Linked DNA regions of Homo sapiens: regions 1, 2, 4 and 5 are each linked to region 3. Evidence: promoter capture Hi-C in 16 types of primary human blood cells and fetal thymus (Javierre and others, 2016). All regions are on one chromosome and are shown on one strand. Each heading gives the region's core, a stretch centred on a gene start or on the middle of the fragment in contact. The rest is flanking DNA. Distances are from core to core; before and after follow the strand shown. Region 1 overlaps NUP188 (nucleoporin 188). Region 2 holds the start of MIGA2 (mitoguardin 2). Region 3 holds the start of SPTAN1 (spectrin alpha, non-erythrocytic 1). Region 4 overlaps DNM1 (dynamin 1). Region 5 holds the start of GOLGA2 (golgin A2).

Evidence for each region. Contacts are between HindIII fragments. The CHiCAGO score rates a contact against its expected background, and 5 or more counts as called.
Region 1: a fragment that was not itself captured here is called in contact with the fragment with the promoter of SPTAN1 in region 3 in 1 of 17 cell types (M2 macrophages); the score reaches 7.3 in M2 macrophages.
Region 2: a contact is called between a fragment that was not itself captured here and the fragment with the promoter of SPTAN1 in region 3, in 13 of 17 cell types (fetal thymus, total CD8 T cells, naive CD4 T cells and 10 more). The highest score is 8.6, in fetal thymus.
Region 4: a fragment that was not itself captured here is called in contact with the fragment with the promoter of SPTAN1 in region 3 in 1 of 17 cell types (endothelial precursors); the score reaches 5.0 in endothelial precursors.
Region 5: a contact is called between the fragment with the promoter of GOLGA2 here and the fragment with the promoter of SPTAN1 in region 3, in 1 of 17 cell types (endothelial precursors). The highest score is 5.1, in endothelial precursors.

The regions. Positions count from the first base shown.
Region 1 is chr9:128,952,060-128,956,435 of GRCh38, reverse strand. NUP188 (nucleoporin 188) reads right to left here. Exons shown (of 44, transcript NM_015354.3): 3 at 3,590-3,663; 4 at 2-86. Among named protein-coding and RNA genes, the nearest start is that of NUP188, 6.5 kb to the right of the region's middle. The HindIII fragment of the contact is 8,060 bases long and covers 1-4,376 here.
Region 2 is chr9:129,033,624-129,037,807 of GRCh38, reverse strand. MIGA2 (mitoguardin 2) reads right to left here and starts at 1,182. Exons shown (of 16, transcript NM_001329990.2): 1 at 1,127-1,182. RefSeq lists an enhancer at 598-727 and a silencer at 1,068-1,197. The HindIII fragment of the contact is 679 bases long and covers 1,307-1,985 here.
Region 3 is chr9:128,550,850-128,555,609 of GRCh38, reverse strand. SPTAN1 (spectrin alpha, non-erythrocytic 1) reads right to left here and starts at 3,023. Exons shown (of 57, transcript NM_001130438.3): 1 at 2,914-3,023. LOC101929270 (a long non-coding RNA gene) reads left to right here and starts at 3,197. Exons shown (of 4, transcript NR_188457.1): 1 at 3,197-3,242. RefSeq lists an enhancer at 75-574 and silencers at 766-1,060, 2,610-3,379. The HindIII fragment of the contact is 3,549 bases long and covers 297-3,845 here.
Region 4 is chr9:128,251,401-128,256,066 of GRCh38, reverse strand. DNM1 (dynamin 1) reads right to left here. Exons shown (of 22, transcript NM_004408.4): 22 at 823-1,413. The coding sequence ends at 1,353. GOLGA2 (golgin A2) reads left to right here. Exons shown (of 27, transcript NM_001366244.2): 27 at 1-238. Among named protein-coding and RNA genes, the nearest start is that of MIR3154, 8.7 kb to the right of the region's middle. RefSeq lists enhancers at 9-511, 512-1,016. The HindIII fragment of the contact is 1,949 bases long and covers 2,369-4,317 here.
Region 5 is chr9:128,274,680-128,279,347 of GRCh38, reverse strand. It overlaps GOLGA2 (golgin A2), which reads left to right and starts at 3,341. Exons shown (of 27, transcript NM_001366244.2): 1 at 3,341-3,455. The coding sequence starts at 3,372. It overlaps SWI5 (SWI5 homologous recombination repair protein), which reads right to left and starts at 3,072. Exons shown (of 5, transcript NM_001318089.2): 1 at 2,946-3,072; 2 at 2,593-2,641. The coding sequence starts at 3,007. RefSeq lists enhancers at 2,838-2,967, 3,828-3,877 and a silencer at 3,568-3,677. The HindIII fragment of the contact is 23,128 bases long and covers 1-4,668 here.

The sequences.
Region 1 (4,376 bases), core at 319-2,818, 400 kb before region 3:
CCAAAAACTTGCTGATTCTTAAACCCAGTTCCTTCAATGGTGAAGCTACATCTTTATTAGCTTTCACTTTTTCAGCTGAACTTGGACTACAAAAAGAACAGTGAATCATTTCTTCATTCTCAATAGCCCACTGAGTTTAAAATAAAAATATTTTAAAATATTTTTCCTACAGACTATTTTCTGCCCTTCAGATGCCTATAAACACACACACAAACACACACACGCACACACACACACACACACACACACACACCCATTCACCTCTACAAACTTCATAACGCAGAACTGGTTATGCCTAACAAAACAAAACAAAAAAAAAGTGGTTAAATTACAGTTATAACAATGTTATTTGTAAACACATTAAGTTACATTATTTTTGATCCTTACTACTGCCCTAAAAGGCAAATATTACTATTCTCCTTTTACAAATGGAATTGCCAGCACTTAGGGTAAATAACTTACCAAAAATCCCACAGCTCATAAACAGTTGCTAAAATTTAAAACCAGGTCTGTGGCATACATACATATATTAATATATTATCTGTAATAGCTCTGTCCACCGAGAAGGCCTAGAATTTATAATACTCCAACAGCAGGAGGTACATGCAGCACCCAGATCCTGCTTTATAATACCATTCTCTAATAACAGGATTCCTTGGAGAATTGGTTGATTCTAGAGTCAGGGCAAGGAAAATACAAGAAAATCTTGAAGCATCTTATAGTGAAAAGAAGTACAAAAGGGCTTAAGAAACCAAAGTCCTTTCGGTAGGAGATGACATAATAGAAAAAAAAGAAAAGAAAAAAAGAAAAAAGGAAGGACACGCCCAAAGGACAGAGGCCAACCTAAAAGAATGCCCAATAGCCAAAGCTGAAACAAGGTATAAACAAAGTATAAGATAAATAAAATAAATATATTTGAGTCTATACTGATATAAACTAATGAATAAATAAATAGGATAGGGAGGGGCCAGAACAATGGCTCATGCCTGTAATCCCAGCACTTTGGGAGGCCAAGGCAGGAGTGTAGCTTGAGGCCAGGAGTTTGAGACCAGCCTAGACAACAAAGTGAGACCCTCATCTCCACCAAAAGTGAAAAAAATTAGCTGGACATGGCTATATTTAGTACTCACTTCCAAAAAATAAAATAGGAAAAGAGAAAAAAGTAACTTTACAGAGGAGAAACTTGGCAAATGCCTCCTTAACTGAGTGACCAAGATTAACATTACCAGTGATTTCATGTGGACAGCATGTACTCTCTGCTATGATGTGGTAAGAAGGGTAGCTTGGCCAGGCGTGGTGGCTCACGCCTGTAATCCCAGCACTTTGGGAGGCTGAGGCGGGCGGATCACCTGAGGTCAGGAGTTCAAGACCAGCCTGACCAATATGGTGAAACCCTGTCTCTACTAAAAATACAAAAATTAGCCAGGCATGGTGGCATGCACCTGTAGTCCCAGCTACTCGGGAGGCTGAGACAGAATTGCTTGAACCCAGGAGGCAAAGGTTGCAGTGAGCTGAAATCGCACCATTGCACGCGAGCATGGGCAACAAGAGCGAAACTCCATCTCAAAAAAAAAAAAAAGAAGAGCACCTCACCTCTGTGTATTTTTCCCAAAAACTCACAACCCCAGTCTAATAATAAGGAAAACATCAGACAAACCCAAATTGGGGGCATACTACAAAATAACTGACCAGTCCTCAAACTTGTTCAAGGTCATGAAAATCAAGGTAAGACTAAGACATTGTCGACATTGTCACCGGCCGCGGTGGCTCACGCCTGTAATCCCAGCACTTTGGGAGGCCGAGGCGGGCGGATCATGAGGTCAGGAGATTGAGACCATCCTGGCGAACACAGTGAAACCCTGTCTCTACTAAAAATACAAAAAATTAGCCAGGCGTGGTGGCGGGCGCCTGTAGTCCCTGCTACTCGGGAGGCTGAGGCAGGAGAATGGCGTGAACCCGGGAGGCAGAGCTTGCAGTGAGCCGAGATCGTGCCACTGCACTCCAGCCTGGGCCACAGAGCGAGACTCCATCTCAAAAAAAAAAAAAAAAAAAGACTAAGACATTGTCACAGCGGGCGCCTGTAGTCCCAGCTACTCGGGAGGCTGAGGCAGGAGAATGGCGTGAACCCGGGAGGCAGAGCTTGCAGTGAGCCGAGATCGTGCCACTGCACTCCAGCCTGGGCCACAAAGCGAGACTCCATCTCAAAAAAAAAAGACTAAGACATTGTCACAGCTAAGAGGAGACTACAGGCACTTGACAACTAGGTTGGATCCTGGAACAGAAAAAAGATAGTAAAGAAAACAATAGGCTGGGTATGACGGCTCACGCCTGTAATCTCAGCACTTTGGGAGGCCGAGGTGAGCAGATCACTTGAGATCAGGAGTTCAAGGCCAGCCTGGCCAACATGGTGAAACCCCATCTCTACTAAAAATACAAAAATTAGCTGGGCGTGGTGGCGGGCACCTGTAATCCCAGCCACTCGGGAGGCCAAGGCAAGCGAATCACTTGAACCCGGGAGGTGGAGGTTGCAGTAAGCTGAGATGTGACACTGCACTCCAGTCTGGGCGACAGAGCAAAACCCCATCTCAAAAAAAAAAAAAGAACAGACACTGGAATGAGACCACCAGGGTCAAATCCTGGTTCTATCACTTAGTAGCTGTGTGACCATGACAAGTTGCTTAACCTCTTTGTGCCTCAGTTTCCCCACTGGTAAAATGGAAACAATGATAAGGGTACCTAAATGTGATAATATAGAGATTATCTTTTTAAAAAGTCCATGTATTTTAGATACATAGTCAAGTATTTGCAGATAAAATAACAAGGTATCTGGGATTTACTTTAAGGTAATTACAGGGGAAGAATTAACAGACAGATGAATAACAAGGAAAAGTTCATCGTTAACCTAAGAGAATGAAAATGGAAGGTAAAGATGTAATACATTCAAAAGCAGTACAAAAGTAGAAGGGAAATGAGGGTGACTTAGACTATAACGCATAATAGAATGAGATCTGGACTAGGAATCAAGATCAAATAAGCCCAGCCCTACAAGCTGCATTCTCTTTATTTGCAACTACTTTATATTTTATTACTATGTTTTCCACTACCCAATAAAAAGATCTATATATTCACCCAAAGAATAAAAGTAGTAACTATCTCAAAGGGGTGTTGTGGGGATTAAATAACTTTTGATAAGTCAGGTGCTTAGAGTATTAATTGTTACATAGTTAACACTACACAAGTGTCAGTTGTTAGCATCATCCTTCACTGCTATCTCCCACCAATTAGTACTCACACAGACACTGTGGACTCTGAATAAATATTAGAAAATTCGTTGAATGTTTAATAAATTCTCATCCCCACACATAGGTCATAATTATATTCTACAATACTGTATTTCTAGAAGGAATTTCCTTTTCTTTCGGTCAACAAAAAAACAAATGTACCCTACTGTTTTCCACTGGTAAACTAAATTGTATTATCTCTGGTATACATAACCCTACAATATCATCAAAGCACATAGAAGGATGGTTTTATCCATGTCAGCTTCCTTAGGACAATTACTTTAACCAGACACCCGGAACTGCCATACCTGGGAGGTTTGTAGTAAGAAAGCCCCTCTAACAATCGCCGCCAATGTTTATTCAGTTCTGCCTCAATCTGACTCTGGAAAAGAACAAGGTAATTATACAAATGCAGTATTTTTTTTTTTTTTTGAGACAGAGTCTCACTCTATCACCCAGGCTGGAGTGCAGTGGCACCAACTTGGCTGACTGCAACCTCCGCCTCCCAGGTTCAAGTGATTCTCGAGCCTCAGCCTCCCGAGTAGCTGGAATTACAGGTGCCAGCCACCACACCCAGCTAATTATTGTATTTTTAGTAGAGATGGAGTTTCACCATGTTGGCTAGGCTGATCTCGAACTCCCCACCTCAAGTGATCTGCCTGCCTTGGCCTCCCAAAGTGCTGGGATTACAGGCGTGAGCCAAGGCACCCGACCGCAAATGCAGTTTTTTGTGCTTTCTTTTTTTTTTTTTTTTTTGAGACGGAGTCTCACTCTGTTACCCAGGATGGAGTGCAGTGGCGCAATCTTGGCTCACTGCAACCTCCGCCTCCTGGGTTCAAGCAATTCTCCTACCTCAGCCTCCTGAGCAGATGGGACTACAGGCGCACGCCACCATGCCAGTCAGTTTTTTTTGTATTTTTAGTAGAGATGGGGTTTCACCATATTGTCCAAGCTGGTCTTGAACTCCTGAACTCGTGATCTGCCCATGTCAGCAAAGTGCAGGGATTACAGGTGTGAGCCACTGCGCCCGGCCCAAATGCAGTTTTATTAATAATCAGACTCGGCCAGGCATGGTGGCTCAGGCCTGTAATCCTA
Region 2 (4,184 bases), core at 397-2,896, 480 kb before region 3:
GCTACAACTGCCACTGCTCCTTCCAGGCCACAACTGTAGGACTTCTGGGCCCCCAAGTGAGAAGCCCACATGGTGTTAAAGATGAGCCTGAACAAATAAACGCTACAGGGGTGACTGAGGCCCACTGTTTGCGGGAGAGTCCAGAGCAGCCCCTGCTGTCCCCACTGGGAGGCAGAGCCTGCAGGTGCGAGGTAACATCACCAGCCCCCAAGCCTGCTTCACTCCAGGGATGGATCCAAATCCAGTCAACCCACACTGTGTCCGTCCCCCTGGCACCCTGTCCGTCCTCCAGGGCCTAAGCTGAGACCCCTCCACCTCCTCTCCACAATGAAAAGCCCACGGCAAGGTCCCCTACCAAATGGACACTTCTACTGCTGTGTAGGGCCTGGCCCCACTTGGGCAGCCATCTCTTGTGCCCTACAATCTTAGGCGGACACCTCCTCATTCCACCGTCACCACAGCACTTACAGCACCCTCAGCCTGGGTGCCTAAGCATATCATCCTACGCGCCTCCTCCCCTGCGCTAGACCACCCCACTAATGACTCTGGCCTGTGCACTCACTCATTCCGTCTGGACCCCAACAACGTCCCCGACTCCCTTGAGCCACTCTGCCCAGTCTCCTATTCACCCCATGCCGGACCCCTCAATAGTCCCACCATGCCGGGCACCGGGCATCCCCGCGTTGGACCTCAGCAATATCCCCGTCTTCAGAAATTGCTCACTCCACCCCAGGCATCTTGGGCAGCCCCTTCTTCTCTTGCCCCCACCCCGGAATATCATTGAAACTCACCCAGGTACCCTCTGGCGCCGCTCACGGCCCGCACGCCTGCTCCTTCCATCCCGGGTGCTCTCCCCGCCTCGGATCGGGTACCTGCGCGCCTGCTCCAATCCCCGCCACGTTCCAGGCCCGGGCATCACCTCCCTGACCCAAGTACCTTCTCGTTCCGCTCCCAAGCAAGGCACCCTCTCGCACCGTCCCCGGCCCGGGTACCCACTCATTCCAACCCCGACACCTTCCTGGTCCTGTTGGGCCCGGACACCTGCGCCTACTCGGTCCTCCGCTCAAGTCCCGGCCCTGCCGCGCTGCCCGCCCGCCTTGGGGGCTCGGCCGGGGCCGATACTCACCCGGGATGCCATCGCTGCGGAAGGGCAGCGTCTCCTTCCCCGGCGGCTGCGCAACCAAACCGGCCGCCCGGGGGCGTGGCCTAGCGCCAAGCCCCCACCCTCTTCTGGCCAATGAGCATCGCTGAGTCTCTCAGGGCCGCCGCAGCCTCTGGCCAATTAGGCGGGTCATGTGACCAAGCTTATATTCCGCCTCTCCCGCCCTCTTCCCCTCCTCCTAGTGCGGTTGAAGCGCGAAAGTGGTCTCTTCTCTTCTACTATTGGTCATTCAGATTAGATCGACATGGGCGGCTGGGTGGGGCGGGGCCATTCTTAAAGGGGCTGAAGCGGAGCAGTCAGACCTCCAAGGGGCTTTCTTGGAGTACGCCAAAGCAGGCTGAGCCCTCGTATTAGGATCCTCTATTCTTGTTCCACACAAGGACAAATCCTTCCCACTCTCCAAGCGCCCATTTTCAAATACTACCGCCCCTGACTTCCCGCAGCATGCTCTTATACTGTCGCCACTCTCCCCCTTGTTCTGGAGTTGTTTGCAAAAGTGCCAGGTCTCGCCGCTAGACAGTGTCTCTCTGAGAGCTGGAGTCAAGGGGTCTTCAGTTCTGGCCACCTATCTGGGTCTTACACTAAATACCAGGATTGAGATCAGGCCGACCTGAGATAGAATCAAGTGTTGCCACTTCAGCTCTCTAGAGCTTACCCCTCTATGAAATAGGGATGAGGCCGGGCGCGGTGGCTCACGCCTGTAATCCTAGCAGTTTGGGAGGCCGAGGTGGGTGGATCACGAGGTCAGGAGTTCGAGACCAGCCTGGCCAACCTGGTGAAACCCTGTCTCCACTAAAGATTAAAAAAAAAAATTAGCCAAGCTTGGTAGCACACACCTGTAATCCCAGCTACTCAGGAGGCTGAGGCAGGAGAATCTCTTGAACCCGGGAGGCAGAGGTTGCAGTGAGCTGAGATCCACCCATTGCACTCCAACCTGGGCCAAAGGGCGAGACTCCGTCTCAAAAAGAAAAAAAGAAATAGGGATAAAATCTTCCCTTTCCCAAATCATAGGGCTTTGGTGAGGATGGAAAGAGGACGGTGTATCAGCCCTTCCATAACTGCGAAGAGCTGGGCACAACTACGTTTTAAAATTGTAATCGTCGGCCGGTAGCAGTGGCTCATGCCTCTATTCCCAGCACTTTGGGAGGCTGAGGTGAGTGGATCACATGAGGTCAGGAGTTCGAGACCAGCCTGGCCAAAATGGTGAAAACCGGTCTCTACTAAAAATAAAAAAGCTAGCTGGGCGTGGTGGCACACACCTATAATCCCAGCTACTTGGGAGGCTGAGGCAGGAGAATTGCTTGAGCCGGGAGGAGGAGATTGCAGTTAACCAAGATCACGCCACTGCACTCCAGCCTGGGCAACAGAGCCAGACTCCATCTCAAAAAAAAAAAAAAAAAAAAAGCCCGGGAGCAGTGGCTCACGCCTGTAATCCCAGCACTTTGAGAGGCCAAGGCAGGTGGATCATGAGGTCAGGAGATCGAGACAATCCTGCCCAACATGGTGAAACCCCATCTTTACTAAAAATATAAAAATTAGCCCAGCATTGTGGCGTGTGCCTGTAGTCCCAGCTATTCAGGAGGCTGAGGCAGCAGAATCGCTTGAAACTGGGAGGTGGAGGTTGCAGTGAGCCGAGATTGCGCCACTGCACTCCAACCTGGGTGACAGAGCAAGACTCCATTTCAAAAAAAAAAAAAAAGGAAAATTACAATTGTCGGTAAAGCCACATTCCTTCATTCATTCAACTAATTAAGTGTGCCAATCCTTTGGCTGGACATGGGAGCTCAGTGGTGGACAAGAGACAGGTATGTGGTGGCACCAGGGAGCTCATTGTCTGGGGAGCAGATACTTAATCACAATCCCCTGTGATGGTTACTCTAATGGGGGAATGTGGGATACCAAGGAGATACCTGGGCTTGCCTGGGGAGGTGAAGGGCTCCAGAAAGAAAAGGGGTCCAAGGCCGGATGTGGTGGCTCACGCCTGTAATCCCAGCACTTTGAGAGGCCGAGGCGGGCAGATCACCAGGTCAGGAGTTCGAGACCAGCCAGACCAACATGATGAAATTAGCCAGGGGTGGTGGCATGCGCCTGTAATCCCAGCTACTCAGGAGGCTGAGGCAGGAGAATCATCTCTTGAACCCGGGAGGCGGAGGTTGCAGTGAGCCGAGATGGCGCCACTGCATTCCGAGACTCCGTGGGGAGGGGAGGGAAGGGGAAGGCAAGGGAGGGGACGGGAGGGGAGGGTGGTCCAAACAGCGGATGCCCAGTGCCCGGCATGGTGGGACTGGTGAGAGGTCTGGCATGGGGTGAATAGGAGACTGGGCAGAGTGGCTAAAGGGAGTCGGGGATGTTGTTGGGGTCCAGGCGGAATGAGTGCACAGGCCAGAGTCATTAGTGGGGTTGTCTGGCACAGGGGAGGAGGCGCATGGGATGATAAGCTTAGACACCCAGGCTGAGGGTGCTGTAAGTACTGTGGTAACTTTGGAATATAAAATTAGCCGGGGGTGGTGGTACCTGCCCCCAAATACTTGGGAGGCTGAGGCAGGAGAATCGCTTGAACTCAGGAGGTGGAGGTTGCAGTGAGCCAAGATCGTCATGCCATTGCACACCAGCCTGGACAACAAGAGTGAAACTCCGTCTCAAAAAAAAAAAAAAGGGTGGGGGGGGGGCCAAGGGCCAGGCACGGTGGCTCATGCCTGTAATCCCAGCACTTTAGGAGGCTAAGGCGGGCGGATCACCTGAGGTTGGGAGTCGGAGACCAGCCTGACCAACATGGAGAAACCCTGTCTCTACTAAAAATACAAAAAATTAGCTGGGCATGGCGGCAGGTGCCTGTAATCCCAGCTACGCAGAAGGCTGAGGCAGGAGAATCGCTTGAACCCGGGAGGCGGAGGTTGCAGTGAGCCGAGATCGTGCCACTGCACTCCAGCCTGGTGACAGAGTGAGACTTCATCTCAAAAAAATAAATATAATAAAATAAAATAACTGTCCTCTAACTGGCAAAAGGTGTTTTGTTTTGTTT
Region 3 (4,760 bases), core at 1,774-4,273:
TTTTCAAGTAAATTTACTAATACTTCTGATAATTTAACACCAAAAAACCCCAAACAAATCCTAACCAATTTGTTTAACAGAAACGTCATGCAGGCAGGGTTTTTTTCCCCCTTTCTTTGGATCATTCAACCTCTTTGACACGAATATGCCTTCACTGCAAGCCAGGCAAAACCAAAAAGGCAACCCGTTTTCTGCATGCTCGTCAAATACCTGGACTCTGCGTTTACGAAACGATGACAACATGATGGAGGAATGTGGAGTCTAAAGAGGGAGGGGGAAGAGCAAGATAACAAGCTTCTAAGGGCAAACGGAACAAAATCATGAAGAAAACAGATTATTTAAAAAATATGAATACAGATTAAAAATCCAATTTCAGATATTTTTTCAGTGTCTTCTCTCTGACATTCTGTATAGCGTCTAAATCCCACAAGGGATTTAAAATGTGGAAGGAGAACCAAGGTTCCCAGGTCTTGGCAGTTACTTTCTAGATATGCTGCCCTGGTCAAGTCTCATTCTCCTTGGGGCCTCAATTTCCCCACTTGTTAAAGTAATAATACCGAATATACTTTTTCAAACTAAACATGCCTTCCTCCTGAGGATCCCAGGACAAGATGATTCCTAAATCCCCTTCCATTCAGCAATAAAAGAGCATGACTTCATGAAATTGCCACAAAGTAGAACTCAAGCCACAAAGATCTGACTTGGGCCTAGTTTGCCAGTACACTTACTTTACAAAATACTATTTCCTGTTCAAAATTGGTACAAGAGGAATATGCAAAAAAGGTGGAAGAGAGGTGATGGTTTGCAGCACAGCTGCTCCAGTCAAGTGGCCCCCAGTGATGAGCTATGCAGTCCTCCTCCTCCTCCGCATTCCTGGAGTCAGCATTTGCCACTAGGGCGTTGCATTCTTCTACAGTACAGCCGCAGCTGATATGCTGCAACAGATGAGTGCGTAACTAGTGGGATCCCTGCATAGCCCACGGAGGACTGATTACAAAGGCAGGCCAGCCTTGAACACACTTGTCCATTCTTAGTGTAGATTCAGCAGTGACAGGACATGGGGGACTATTCCTGAGATCCACTTTTCAGGATCTGCAGTTGACCCCCAACTTTGGATGAAGGCAGGTAAGAAAAAGCAGAAAAAATTCTAACCCAGGGAACCAAAAGACATACTTAAAACAGCTCTCCCCATGTGCACCTCTTCATCATATTGCTTGACAGGCTTACACTGCAGCCTGTGACATACCAGATTTCTCCAATTATTAGATGACTACAAAACACACTGCCAAGACCAAAGCATATCAGAGAATCAGTTACTAGGCTGATGGTTTGCCATAAGAACTGCTTCACACTTGTCCAGGATGAAGCAAAAATCCTCCTTTCCAGTCTCTCCATCAAGGTCCCTGGATAACAGTTAACACACTTTGAGGGTCCCTTTGAGTAATTATTGGCCCAGTTACTAAAAAAGGCTTATTGTTAATTTCCTGCACAGAGGCCTTTACTGCAGCACTTTTTTTTTCCTCCGCAGCACATTCAATTTGACCTTTCAAAATCTAAGACATTAGTTAGCTGCAATGAAAGGGAAAATAAACGACTAGTTAAGGAGTCGGAACCTTGACTCAATGGCTTCATATAGCTGAGTGTTCCTCCTGCTATTTCCAAGATTTTCTGTTTCCTGGCTCCAAGACACCCCCACCCTTCCATCTTTGATACATTCTGTTTTACTTAAGGCCAATTGCTATGACGACGCAATTTCTCAACACATTATGAAAATACTTCATATGGCCTCTCTCCTGTTCTTCCCGAACAGCCATGATGGTAAGTTTTTCTAAAATAACATGATGAAGACAGAACAAAGGGCTTAAATATTTTAGGATCTATTATATAAAAGAGATCTGATTAGATGTTGGAACAGTTCAAGCATCATCTCAACCCAGCTTTCTGAGCTATTTAGGCTTTTCATTTAAAACATATTCAACTTTTAACAAGGCGCTTATTTAAAATATATTTTACTCTAGTACATCAGAGACTTTTGAAAGCGATGTTCTAGGGGAAGCGTCTAATCAAATTCTCAGGGACAGCTTTCAAACAAAAGACTGTTCTATCATTCAACAGTGGTATGGTAGAATTTTTGACACTGTATCTCGACTCGAAAGACCCAGTCCCAGGAAACACACACACAAACAAGAACGCTAAGCTATTAAGTTATTTGATTTGAGCCACATACCATGCAAGCACTGCATTTACCTATTATTTACAAGCAAATCACAACTAGGAAGAAAGAAAAATGTTTATTACAAGGAAAGAAAAGGAGACGGCCAGTCTCAGACCCTTCTGCGTTCAGAGAGACGGCAGAGATTCGCCATGCAGGATGAAATTAAGGTCAGAGAGCCGTTTACGCTATGCTCGGGCTCCCCGGGCTCTTCCTCCCTCTACGGCTGGCCGGCATTGCTGGTGCGATTCGGAAGAACGAGCTGCAGAAGTCGCTCCCGGCCGAGGGAAGGGACCGGGGGCGGTGCGGGGAGCGTTCTGCAGGGAGGCGGCTGGCGAAGATCCCGACGAGGGAGCCCCCACCCACCTGCCGCAGCCGGATGGGGCAGGGCAGGGCCGCGCCGCAGCCAGGCTTGGGGGTGGTTGGGAGGGACCCGGCGGCCTCGCGCCCCCTCCCCCCGTCAGTGACATTCCAGCGGCGGCGCCGAGCCTCGGCCCGGCTGCTCCTCCGCAGCCCACGCGCCACAAAAGCAGCGGCAGCGGCTTCCCCCACTCAGCCGAATGGAGGCAGCCCCGCGGCCCGCCCGGCTCACCTGTCCGCGCGCCGGCCCCGCCCCGCCTGAAGAGCTGCCCAGCTCCCACCCGGGGGTCGGCTGCCCGGGGCCCCGCTCCCTCCCGGAGCTCCCCGGCTGCCCCTCTCACCGGCTCTCGGGGGGTGAGGGGCGTGGGTGCGTCGGGCCGAGGGGTGCTGAAGGACCGAGGAGCCTCCGCGGCCTCCGCTCCACACCGTTCACTCCGCAGCGGGTAGTGGCGGCGACGCGCGCGCCCCGCCTCTTTTATAAGCGGCTACGCGCGCTCCCGCGGCGGGCGGGCGCGAGCGCCGGGGGAAGCGCCCCGGCGCTGCGCGAGGGGTGGGGGAGCGCGCCGGCGGAGCAAAGGGGGCGGTGCTCCCGCCGGCTCGCCGCCCGACCGCCCGGCGGAAAGGGCCGAGCGATCCCGGAAGGAGCCGAAGCGACAATGCGGGGGAAGAGGTGAGCGAGGGGCGGGCCGCGGGAGGATGGGGAAATGGGGCGCGCGCAAGGGGTGAGGGGTGATGGTGCAGTGAGGTCACTGCCTACGCCCTGGCGGTAGAGACGCTCCCGCCTCACCTCCCTCCCCGCAGCTTGCGCCCCGCCACCGCCCGCCCTGCGGACAGTCGTCTGCATCGCACCACTCCGCCCTGGGAGCTCTTCCAGGACTGCGGAGAAGGGCGGGGCGGGGGTATCGCTGCAGTCTGGCTGGGGATGCTGCGCGCCCCGGCCGGAAAAACGCCCAGTCCCAAAGGGTGAGATCACCCGAGTGCGTCTCTTCCTGCTCACTTTCCCGAGGAGGAGGCTGGCGCTGGGGTCCCAAGTCAGCCTAATTCGGTGGGGGCTGGGGTCAAGAAGACGCGGATGATTTGGGGCCCCGGGTTTGAGGAGGTGGTGAGAGGAAAAGGCCAAATCCGAATCAGAAAAAAAATTAAGTCGACTAATTTGGGGCATAAAGCTGTCATTCTGGGATTTGGAGAGTTAATTTCTTATGTTCTTGGAGATTATGGGGGAGGAAACGGCAGCGGCAAAATAATAATTTCTTACATTCCTGCAACAAAAGCTTTCTCACAGGTCGCCAGTGGAATAGGCTACATTCATCCTATTTCATAAACAAGACATTAAGGTTCTTTCTGGCACAATTAATCGAACTTGCCTTGTGTACTAGGCACTATGCTAAGTATTTCGTGTTACCTTTTCATTTCTTAATCTTTGCAATAATTTTATGAGATGTTTTCCCATTTTACAAATGGGCACTCTTACATAATGCTCATGTAGGCTAAGTCTCTTGGCCCAGGTCAGGCAGCTACCAATTGGAAGAGCTAGGATTTACATCTCAGCAGTCAGAACCTTCCCTTTGCAACCGTATGTGTATTGCCTTCAAATAGGAAAGGGAGGCATTTTGATGCGGGTGGCTGCTGGGGTGCAGAAAGAGAAAAATAAGATTCTCAGAATTTCTGATACTTAAAGTCCTAGCAGTTTAAGGTCCTGGCTCTAAACTCTGTAGCCAGAAGCCCTGGATTAGGAAGCCCTTTCCCTATCCCCATTCCGGTGACAGCTGGGCCGCAGCCACTGGGAGTAACACCCAGATCATTCCTGTGCAGTCAGGCAGACGGGGAGCTCTGCAGCTTAGGAAGGCTTCAGCCTCCTGGTTACCAAGCAGCTCTCCTCTTTAAATAAATATAAAGTCATTGGACACTGCACCAGAATCTGGGCCCAGACCTGGCCCTGAGCTTCCTGGCCCTCTGCAGTTTGGCTTCTTTCCCCGTGCCTGGGACCTGCAATACGGTTTCTAAGCTGTCCTGGCTGTAGCCATGATACTGAGGAAAAATTTCCCTACCCACTCACTCCATTGGAGTGGAGAGAAAAGCAGTGACCACACCCCAGAAGCTGCTTTAGAGAATCTGTGTAGGAGAAACGTAGGAGCTGAGAGGCATTTCCTGCAATCTTCTATGTAGAGAAAACAGCGCTGAGCAACTC
Region 4 (4,666 bases), core at 2,094-4,593, 300 kb after region 3:
ATATTGTATCTGTGTAACATTTTGTATATTCCAGGGGTAGGGCCGCCCCCTGTATCATACCTAGCAGAGGTTGGAGCTGGCACATGGGGAGGAGGTTCTAATAATTATTTGGGGCTGGGAAACTTATTTATTGATAGCATAGGACAGAGGAAGGAGGCGGGGATGGGGTCGTGGCGCCCTGGTGATGCGACTCCTGTTTATTTTGCTTTTTATTTCGGAATAAATGGATTTAGCCATACTGCTCTGCCTGATGTGTTCCTGTTTCTCTCACTGGGTCCTGGAGTTTGTGCCACTGAACAGGGAGCCCCAGAGTGTCTGAGCATGTGCAGCTGGGCTGTTGGGACCTTCCAGGCTTGTTACCTGTATGCTGCCTGGTGACATCTTGGGGATTACACGGGGACTACCATGGTACCTATGGGGACAGTTTGGCCCCGATGGCCAACAGGCTCAGAAGCCTGATCTAGCGGTGGCCAGGAAGACAGGATGCCAGCACCCAAGGGCACTGACTTCCATCCAGCCCAGGTGTCTTCCATTCTGTCCCCCTGCCTCCCTCGCCTGCCTGAGCCTGGTGGCCTGTTCTGTCTGTCCCTCCAGAATGCCAGCCGCCCTGCCGGCGCCCTCCAGGCTGAGTTAATGGCCCTGCCCCCTAGTGGCCAGAGCCCGCTTCACAGGATGAGAGCCCCCTAAGCTCCAGGGGCTTTCCAGGAAAAATGTCCCTTGGAAAAGATGTGGTCTTTTCACCACCCCCAGCAGCACCCTAGTAATGGCTTAGCCCTTCCCCTCCCCTGAGCTCCAGAGAGAACACAACCAGCAGAGGAGACATTCCCCATCATCCAGAAATGGGTTTTATTCTCAGCCGAGGGACAGCAGGACTGGTAGAAACTGTCAGGCCACACGGCTGCCTGCACAGCACCCCCATGCTTGGTAGGGGGTGGGAGGGATGGCGGGGGCTGGCTGTCCACAGGCCGGGCATGACAAGGAGGCTCACTGGAGGTGGCACACTTTGGAGTGGGATGTCGGGGGACAGCGTTCTCTGGTAGTTGGGCCACAAGACTCCACAAGGATAGCACAGTGACTGATTCCCAGCGCTAGAGGCGAGGCGGTTGGCCATGTGTAGGTGTGTATATATATGAGTATTTATAGATATTTATAGAACAGGGCAAGGGCATACCACAGAAGGGGCACAAGTTTTCACCAACGGTCACACCTGAATGTATCAGCTCACCACTACAACAGATTAAGTCACAGATGAAGGGGGCTGGCTTTGGGGCTGGGGGAGCCACTGTCAAGTCACAGAACAGCCGTCCAGGCAGGCTTGGAAAGGGAGGTCTCCGAGAAGAGGAGGGATCTGTTTAGAGGTCGAAGGGGGGCCTGGGGCTCTCAGGACGGGATGGACTTGCCTGACCCGATCGGCTGGCAGTTGGAGAGAAAGCAGAGAGAAAACGGGAGAGAAAAGCGAGGAGAGAGCTGGTAAGGCAAGCGCAGCACACGGCCGGGGCCGGCCGCGCCGCAGCAGTGGTGGGAGGGCCGGGGAGGGGAGGCTGCAGGTGTGGGTGTGGCAAGGTTCCTGGAAAAGGGGCTGGAAGGGAAAGGGGAGGAAGATGGAGGGAGGAGCCGTAGCTTCACAGATAGCGCCTGGGGGCTGTGGCGGCCCTCCCCACCCCACACACGCTGGCCTCTCACACGGCACCCAGGCAGGGCACCCGCAATTCAGGCTGATGCTCGGCCCCCTCGGGCTTCCCTCTTCTCTGGTCACCCTGTCTTCCAACCCACTGGCCTGGGGCCACCCCTTGCCTTGGGGAGCCCCATGCAACAGCCACCAGGCCTGATAGAGAAAGAACACTGCTTGAACCAGGAGGGTGAAACTAAAAGGGATGGCTGGAGGGAGCGCCGGAGGCCCCTCTGGGTGTTCAGAAAACCCAGGACCCTCTGAAGGGACCCTGGGGGAGGCAGGGAGGGCAGGCAGCCGGATGCCAGTGGCCATAGACTTATAAGTCTAAGAGGGGAGCCTCAGCTGGTCGGGGGGCTGCAGGTCTCGTAGGTGAGGCTGGGCCCTTCCTGCTGGGAAAAGCAGAAGAGCGAGAGTCAGTGGCAGGAGAATGGGGGGTGGGCTCACTGGGCGGAGCTCAGCTGGGCCAGCAGGCACGGTCGTCCCCTTGGCTGAATGGCACAAGTGACCCTAGGAGCAACAGGCCAAGGTGCGTGAGCCCGCTGGCTGGCTACGGTGCTTCAGCTGGGGCCAGGGACACTGCCTTCAGTCACACTAGCAGCTATGACGGTACCTGGGAGGGAGGGAAGGGGGCTGTGTGTCCCTGCCTGGCCTGTGAGGTATGTCGTGGGATGACCGTGTGTATGGGACTCTCAAGCTTTTACCCTAGGTCACCACTGGATTGCCGGCAGATAGAGGAGGTGGGACCCTGACTCTCACCCCTGCTCTACGGTGGATTTGGCTCTCAGCACTCCCAGGCTGGGAGCTGGATGCCCTACCCAGGGAGCATGACTCAGACTGCACACCACGCACGGTGTGCCCAGGATAACGTTCCTAGGCCTCTGGCCGCCTCAGAGTCCAGCCCCACACACGACCCCCTCCAAGCTCCCAGCCTTTACACCATAAACCACGAGCTCTCTGCCCTCTCTGACGGCTCCAGAGAGCACCCATGTCTGCCAGCTTGGGCGCGGAGCCTGTTCCAAGAGCCTCCAGGCTCAGCCATGGAGGCCTTGGGCAGTGGCACTGAGTCCCGAGGCTCGCAGGGAAGGGAGGTGAGAGAGCCAGCGGCACAAGGACAGAAAGAGGAAAGAGCAAGTCTGCAGCTGCAGAAGGGAGGGGCGGGGAGCCTGGCTCTGAGGTCCCAGGTGCGCGCCCCGTGTGGAGCTAGTGCAGCGGGGCAGACACACCGTTCATGCAGCAGGCGGTGAGGCATGTACCTACCATGGCTGACGCTCCTCAGGGGTCACTGATAGTGATTCTGAAAGACAGCACGAAATCAACATGGCAGTTCACACGCACGGGTGGGGCCGGCCTGGGGGTGGGGGACACACACACGCACACGCCCGGGCGTGCACACACATGCTGTGAGGCCCCATGGCCCACATGCACACGCTAACACACATGCCCACAAACAACACGCATACGCCTCCTTCCCCGCCACCTCCCAGTGCCCAGCACCCTCACTGGCCGGCGGCGCGTGCAGCATGGATCTGGGGCATGCAGCCACTCAGCACACTGAAGCACACGTGTGGGCAGAGTCACAACACAGAAGCTCACCCGCACACAGAGGCATTTGCACCAGCTCCCTGCACACTCGTGCCTGGTGTGCTTAGAGGATCACCCGTGCTGCTCATGGAGATAGGGCTTGCTCGCTAAAGTCCAGCTGTCATTTCTCCACCTAAGAGCCTTCTGTGGTTCCCTACTGCCCACAGCATTGAGCCCCAACAAGTCAAACTTTTCAGACTTTGAAGGTTCTCCACCTTGCGCCCCACCCTGCCCACAGAGCTCTTCCTCATTCTGTCTCTGTTCTCTGCTTTGTCCAGTGGCTGTCCTCGTTGCAGCCCACACTACACCTCTGCCCACACTGCAGCTCTTGGCCCAGATACCCTCCTGATTCCTTGCCACGTAAGCCTATCTCAGCCATGCCTCAGACTGCACTGAAGTCAGGTTGCCTTGAAGAAGCTCTCCCAGACTGCTCTTTTCCCCAAGGTAGGGTCATGATTTGCCAAATGTTTCATGTGTGTTAGCAAGACTGGAGTTGGGGCAGGCATCAAACCTTACATCACAGATCTCACACCGCACCATAGACCTGGGTGCCAAATACCCTGAAGAATCTGAACTCACGTTGGCAGTTAGCAAAGTGCTCCTACGGCTGCATCTGCAGTTAACACAGCATCCCTATAGCCACTGTCTCCCTCGATCCCCACAACCGCCCTGGGAAAAAGGCAGAATGTCATCATTTGATAGAAGGGATGCTGAGGCTCTGGGAGGGAAAGAGACGTGTCTAAAGGCCCAGGGTGAAGCAGCATCTCTGGACTCCCAGTCCAGTCCTCTTGCCCAATACCATGCTGCTTGCCTCTACGCATCTGCTTTGGTCATCAGAGCATCATAGGGCAAGCCCCAATCCCTGCCTCATTTTGGTTTATGGGTGCTAGACCGACAGCCCTACCCTCCAGCCATGCAGAAACAAAACAGATGCTATTGTTCTGCTGTGTTCTTCCTTAGAGAATGTGGCCAGTGGAAACAGGGCAGACTGGGAATTGGAGTGAACTTCCTTGAAAGAGAGTCATGGGTCAAGAAGGTCAAGCCAAAGGATGTAGTAGAAAGCTTTTCCCTAGAAATCTTTGGGAATGAAGCAGGCTTCAAGCACTCCCATCCCTGCCCCTGCCGCCACCCCTACCACATTGGTTTAGACTGGGTAGGGCCAGAAGTCGCGGAGGGGGTGGTTGGGGGGAGGAAAAAAGCCATCAGTTTGCCCACGGCCCAGGCTGCTTCCCCAGCTGCTCCTGTCCTAGCCCGGGCCTGGGTGCCATGCTTACACTCTCACACTCGTGTGCACGCCCACACACACATCACACACCTTTCTAGTCACACAGTCACAGCCTGGCCTCTGCTCCTGTGGGCCAGTGGCTGGACACCCCCTGGGATGGCTCAAAGGAGTCAGGGCTGGGAAGTGGG
Region 5 (4,668 bases), core at 2,092-4,591, 280 kb after region 3:
GTGGTAGTGGTCCCCTGGGCCCAGCGGTTTTCTCTTTATCTCTTTGTCTTGTGTCTTTATTTCTTACAATCTCTTGTCTCCGCACATGGGGAGAACGCCCACCAAGCCCCGTAGGGCTGGATCCTACAGAAATGCCCACATTTACCTCAGGAGTGGCAGGAAGCAAAGGAGCCAGCCGAGCGGGCACAGAAAAAGAGGCAGGAGAGGTCAGGAGGGTGCTCCTGCAAATAGGCCCAGAGAGGAGCAAGCCCAAGGTACCGCTTAAGAGTTCAGTTCAAGCCCAGGCACGGTGGCTCATGCCTGTAATCCCAGCACTTTGGGAGGCTGAGGCGGGTGGATCACTGAGGTCAGGAGTTTGAGACCAGCCTGGCCAACATGGCAAAACCGTCTCTACTAAAAATATAAAAATTAGCCGGGCATGGTGGCGGGCACCTGTAATCCCAGCTACTAGGGAGGCTGAGGCTGGAGAATCACTTGAACCTGGGAGGCAGAGGTTGCAGTGAGCCAAGATCGTGTCATTGCATTCCAGCCTGGGCGACAGAGCAAGATTCCGTCTCAAATAAAAAAAAACAAAAAAAACCAAAAACAACTCAGTTTCTCAGTTTAAAGCCCCCAGCTCTGCCACGTCCTGGCTATATTCATCTCTCTGGAACTCACAGGCCTCACCTCAACATGGGGACAGTAAAGCGTCTTCTCAAAGGTTGCTGGAAGGAACTGGAAAGATGATGCATGTAAAGTAAGCTGATGGGACAATGCTCAATAGAGCCTCCTTTTTTTTTTTTTTGAGATGGAGTTTCGCTCTGTTGCCCAGGCTGGAGTGCAGGGTGATCTCGGCTCACTGCAACCTCCACCCCCTGGGTTCAAGCGATTCTCCTGCCTCAGTCTCCCAAGTAGCTGGGATTACAGGCATGTACCACTATGCTCAGCTAATTTTTGTATTTTTAGTAGAGATGGGGCTTCACCATGTTGGGCAGACTGGTCAAACTCCTGACCTCAGGTGATCCACTCACCTTAGCCTCCCAAAGTGCTGGGATTATAGGCGTGAGTCACTGTGCCGGGTCGAGCGTTGTTTTTAAAAATGGAAGGAATGGAAGCTGGGCATGGTGGCTCATGCCTGTAATCCCAGCACTTTGGGAGGCCGAGGCGGGCAGGTTGCTTTGAGCTCACGAGTTTGAGACCAGCCTGGGCAACATGGCGAAAATTTGTCTCTACTGAAAATACAAAAAAATTAGCCAGGCGTCATGGCACACAACTGTGGTTCCAGCTATTTGGGACGCTGAGGCAAGAGGATGGGTTGGGCCTGGGAGGCAGAGGTTACAGTGAGCCCAGATCGCACCATTGCACTCCAGCCCGGGCGACAGAGTGCGACTGTGTCTCAAAAAAAAAAAAAAAAAAAAAAGAGAAGGAATGAATTAGCATGAATGAGAAAGGCATGATCTGCAGTGAGTTACCGCATGGTCAAAGACAGTGGATACCAACCCACTTGCAGAGAGAAGCTCAATCAGCCCAGTGCTTTTGGCAAACTATGGCTGCCACCCCGTCATCGTCATCTGAGCTCACTGTGAGTTGCCCTTCAGGCCCTGCCTCTGACCCTGCCATCTCTGGAGAGCCCTCTTTGCAAGCCCAAGCCTGGGCTCCCCATCTCAGAACCATGTGCATACTTGTCCTGGAATTATTTTTTTGCCTGTGGCTCCTGGAGGGCAGGGGGCTATCTGGCATACACCTGCATTGCAGCAGTTGCTAAATCAATGAACAAATACCAAGTCTTTCCCGATCTAACTTCTTTTTTGTTTTTGAGACTTGTCTAGCTCTGTTGTCCAGGCTGGAGTGCAGTGGTGCAATCTCGGCTTACTGCAACCTCCACCTTCCGGGTTCAAGCAATTCTCCTGCCTCAGCCTCCTGAGTAGTTGGGATTACAGGCCTGCACCACCACGCTCGGCTGATTTTTTTGTATTTTTAGTAGAGACAGGGTTTCATCATGTTGGGCAGGCTGGTCTTGAACTCCTGACCTCAAATGATCTGCCCGCCTCAGCCTCCCAAAGTGCTGGGATTACAGGTGTGAGCCACTGCACCCGGCCCTCACGATCTACCTTAAGAGTGGTGGTAGTTGTAGTGGCAACTCCATCTGGGGGATGAGAGAAGGAGTAGGCTGCGTTTTGGGGGTGGCTTGCCAGCGAAGAGGAGAGACTATTAGCAACGAAAGGAGTGGCCAGGGTGAACGCCAAGCATTTTCCTGACTGGGGAGCTATGGGTTTGTTTAAAGGCAGGGCTGGGTGAGGGGTGAAAAGAGCGAGGAGGAGAGATGGCTGGTGCTGGACTGGAGTGAAAGGCATCTGAGGAGCCAGGAGACAGGATGGGGAGGGAGAGGAGTTAGCCTAGGACAGGACAGGATAACACTTCTTTGAAGACTGGCGGGCATGAGGAAAGGAAGGGGAGGGATTCGGGAATGACCTGGCGGTTCTCAGTCGACTGGGAGAAGATATGGAAGAGGGCCAAGCGGGGATTGGCTGCTGTTGGGATGGGGAGTGGGGCCGGGAGCGCACAAGGGAAGGTCGAGGATGGGAAAGGGGGTGTGGGGGAAGAAATACTCACAGGGGATCGGAAGGCCCCGCGGCAACTTCGGGTAAGTCTTGGTTCAGTCCTAGAGAGGAATCCGAGGGGAAAGTCTGATTGGACCCACAGCCCGCTGTGAGGACGGGGTACTGTGGGGATGCGGGAGGAGGAGCAGTTGGGAAGTAGGAGCGCCAGGGACTGGATCCATCTGGAAAGGGGGCAGACACGCTCTCAGGATCAGGGTAGAGACCCTCTAGGAAGGGGGCGTTCTGAGACGGGGGTTGTCTGGAGCACTGGATGGGAGTCTTTGGAGGTGATTTCTGGGAAGGGAGAGTCTGGGGCAGGGCTGTGAGGAGTCAGGAAAGAAACTGTGGAGTCCGTTCCTCGCCCACCTCCTGAGCCCTGGGGTCCGAGGCCCCCGGATCAGGGGGTTCAATGGCGCAAGAGGGTCCAGCGCGGGAGTCGGAGAGCGACCTCTCAGGTGCACCGGGCCAGGAACTCTGACCCGGAGTGTGAACTGGCGCACAGAAAGCTGCGCGCGCACCCAAGGAAAGCCGGCCCCGCCCCTCTCCCGAGGTGGGCGGGGACAGCGGTTGCGTGCGCAGCTTTTGTTGTGACGCCACAGGTCCCTCTGGCCACGCCGCTGCATAGCCACGCCCCCTTCCGCTTCATATTTCTCATTGACCAATGGGCTTTGATCTTTGAGGCCACGCCCCCATTCTGCGCTCCAGTATCGCCCTGGTTACGCCTCCTCTGGCTCCGTCGCACAGCTGCGCGGTGGCTGACTGACTTCCGCAGTGGTTGCCGGGATCGCGCTGATGTGGCCCCAACCCCGCCTCCCTCCCCGCCCCGCGATGTCGGAAGAAACCCGACAGAGCAAATTGGCCGCAGCGAAGAAAAAGGTAAAGTGCACCGGGTCGCGGCCCCCCGACCCAGCCCCAGCCCCACTCCGATGGCAGGACCATGGCCAGAGTCTCTGCCACTCCTGAGGCACACCGGGCTGGGCTCCCCACGGCGCGTCCGGGCTCCCTCCACCAAAGTCTTGTCAGCCAGCCCCGCCCCCTCAGCCGCCCAGCCCCCGCCCTCGCCAGTCGCCCCCGGGTGACTTTGGGCTGGTGCTCCCGGGGCTCCCCGCTCCAGACTCGGCCCTCACCTCCTGCCCCCCGAAGTCCGACCTCCCTGGGCTCTTTGGGCTGGCGTCTCCAAGGACCTAGGACCCCAGCAATTCAGCCCCTGCCCTCGCCAGTGACTTTGGGCCCGTGACTCCCGGGGCCCCCCGCTCCAGACTCGACCCTCACCTCCTGCCGCCCCAAACCGGACCTCCCGGGGTTCTTTGGTCTCGGGTCTCCAAGGACCTGGGTCCTGGCCCTGCGGTCCCCTCCCCCATCGCGGAGCGGCGACTTGGACGTCGCGCTGATGTTCCCCCTAGGAGTGGAATGTAGTGACGTCACAATCCCCCTCGGAACCGTAATTAGTTGCGCGAGACCAGTCTTTGATCTTAGGACCCAGTCCCCTAAGTGTTCTCATCCCGCTTCTGGTTCCTCTGGTCACAGCATAAATTTCCAGCTGGAAGGGGATTGGGGACTATGGGACCTAGGAGGGAGAGGTTTCAGGCTGCCTTACACCCTTAACATAGACATTGACAGTGTGAAAAGCCTACACTTCACCCGTGAACTGAAAACATTGGCAGTATCTCTGGGTGGCAATGTGAGAACGGGATTGGTTTGGTTTTCCCCCAGGCTTCTACTCTCCAGAGAGACTTTAACATTTTTTTCTGACTTCTCCACCTCATATTCGAATTCTCCATGGTTCTGGGACCAGAGTGCCCTTCAGTGGTCTCTGGAATGAGATCTGCTTATCTTCTGTGGAACAGGTCTTGGGAAACTGAACTTGACAGCTTGAATCTTCCTCATATCATCTCAACCTGGGGTACTTGGAGTGCCACAGGATAAATACGGGGCATCTTTCTGAAGCATCAGTCTCCCTTTATTCTCTTGAGAGAGAAAAAACATTAATGTACTTAGGGATGACAGTCACATAAATTTCTAAGAGTATACCAGACTTTTCTCTGAAATGAGGCTTGGGTTGTCCTCTTTCTGTTAAATTCCCAGGTTC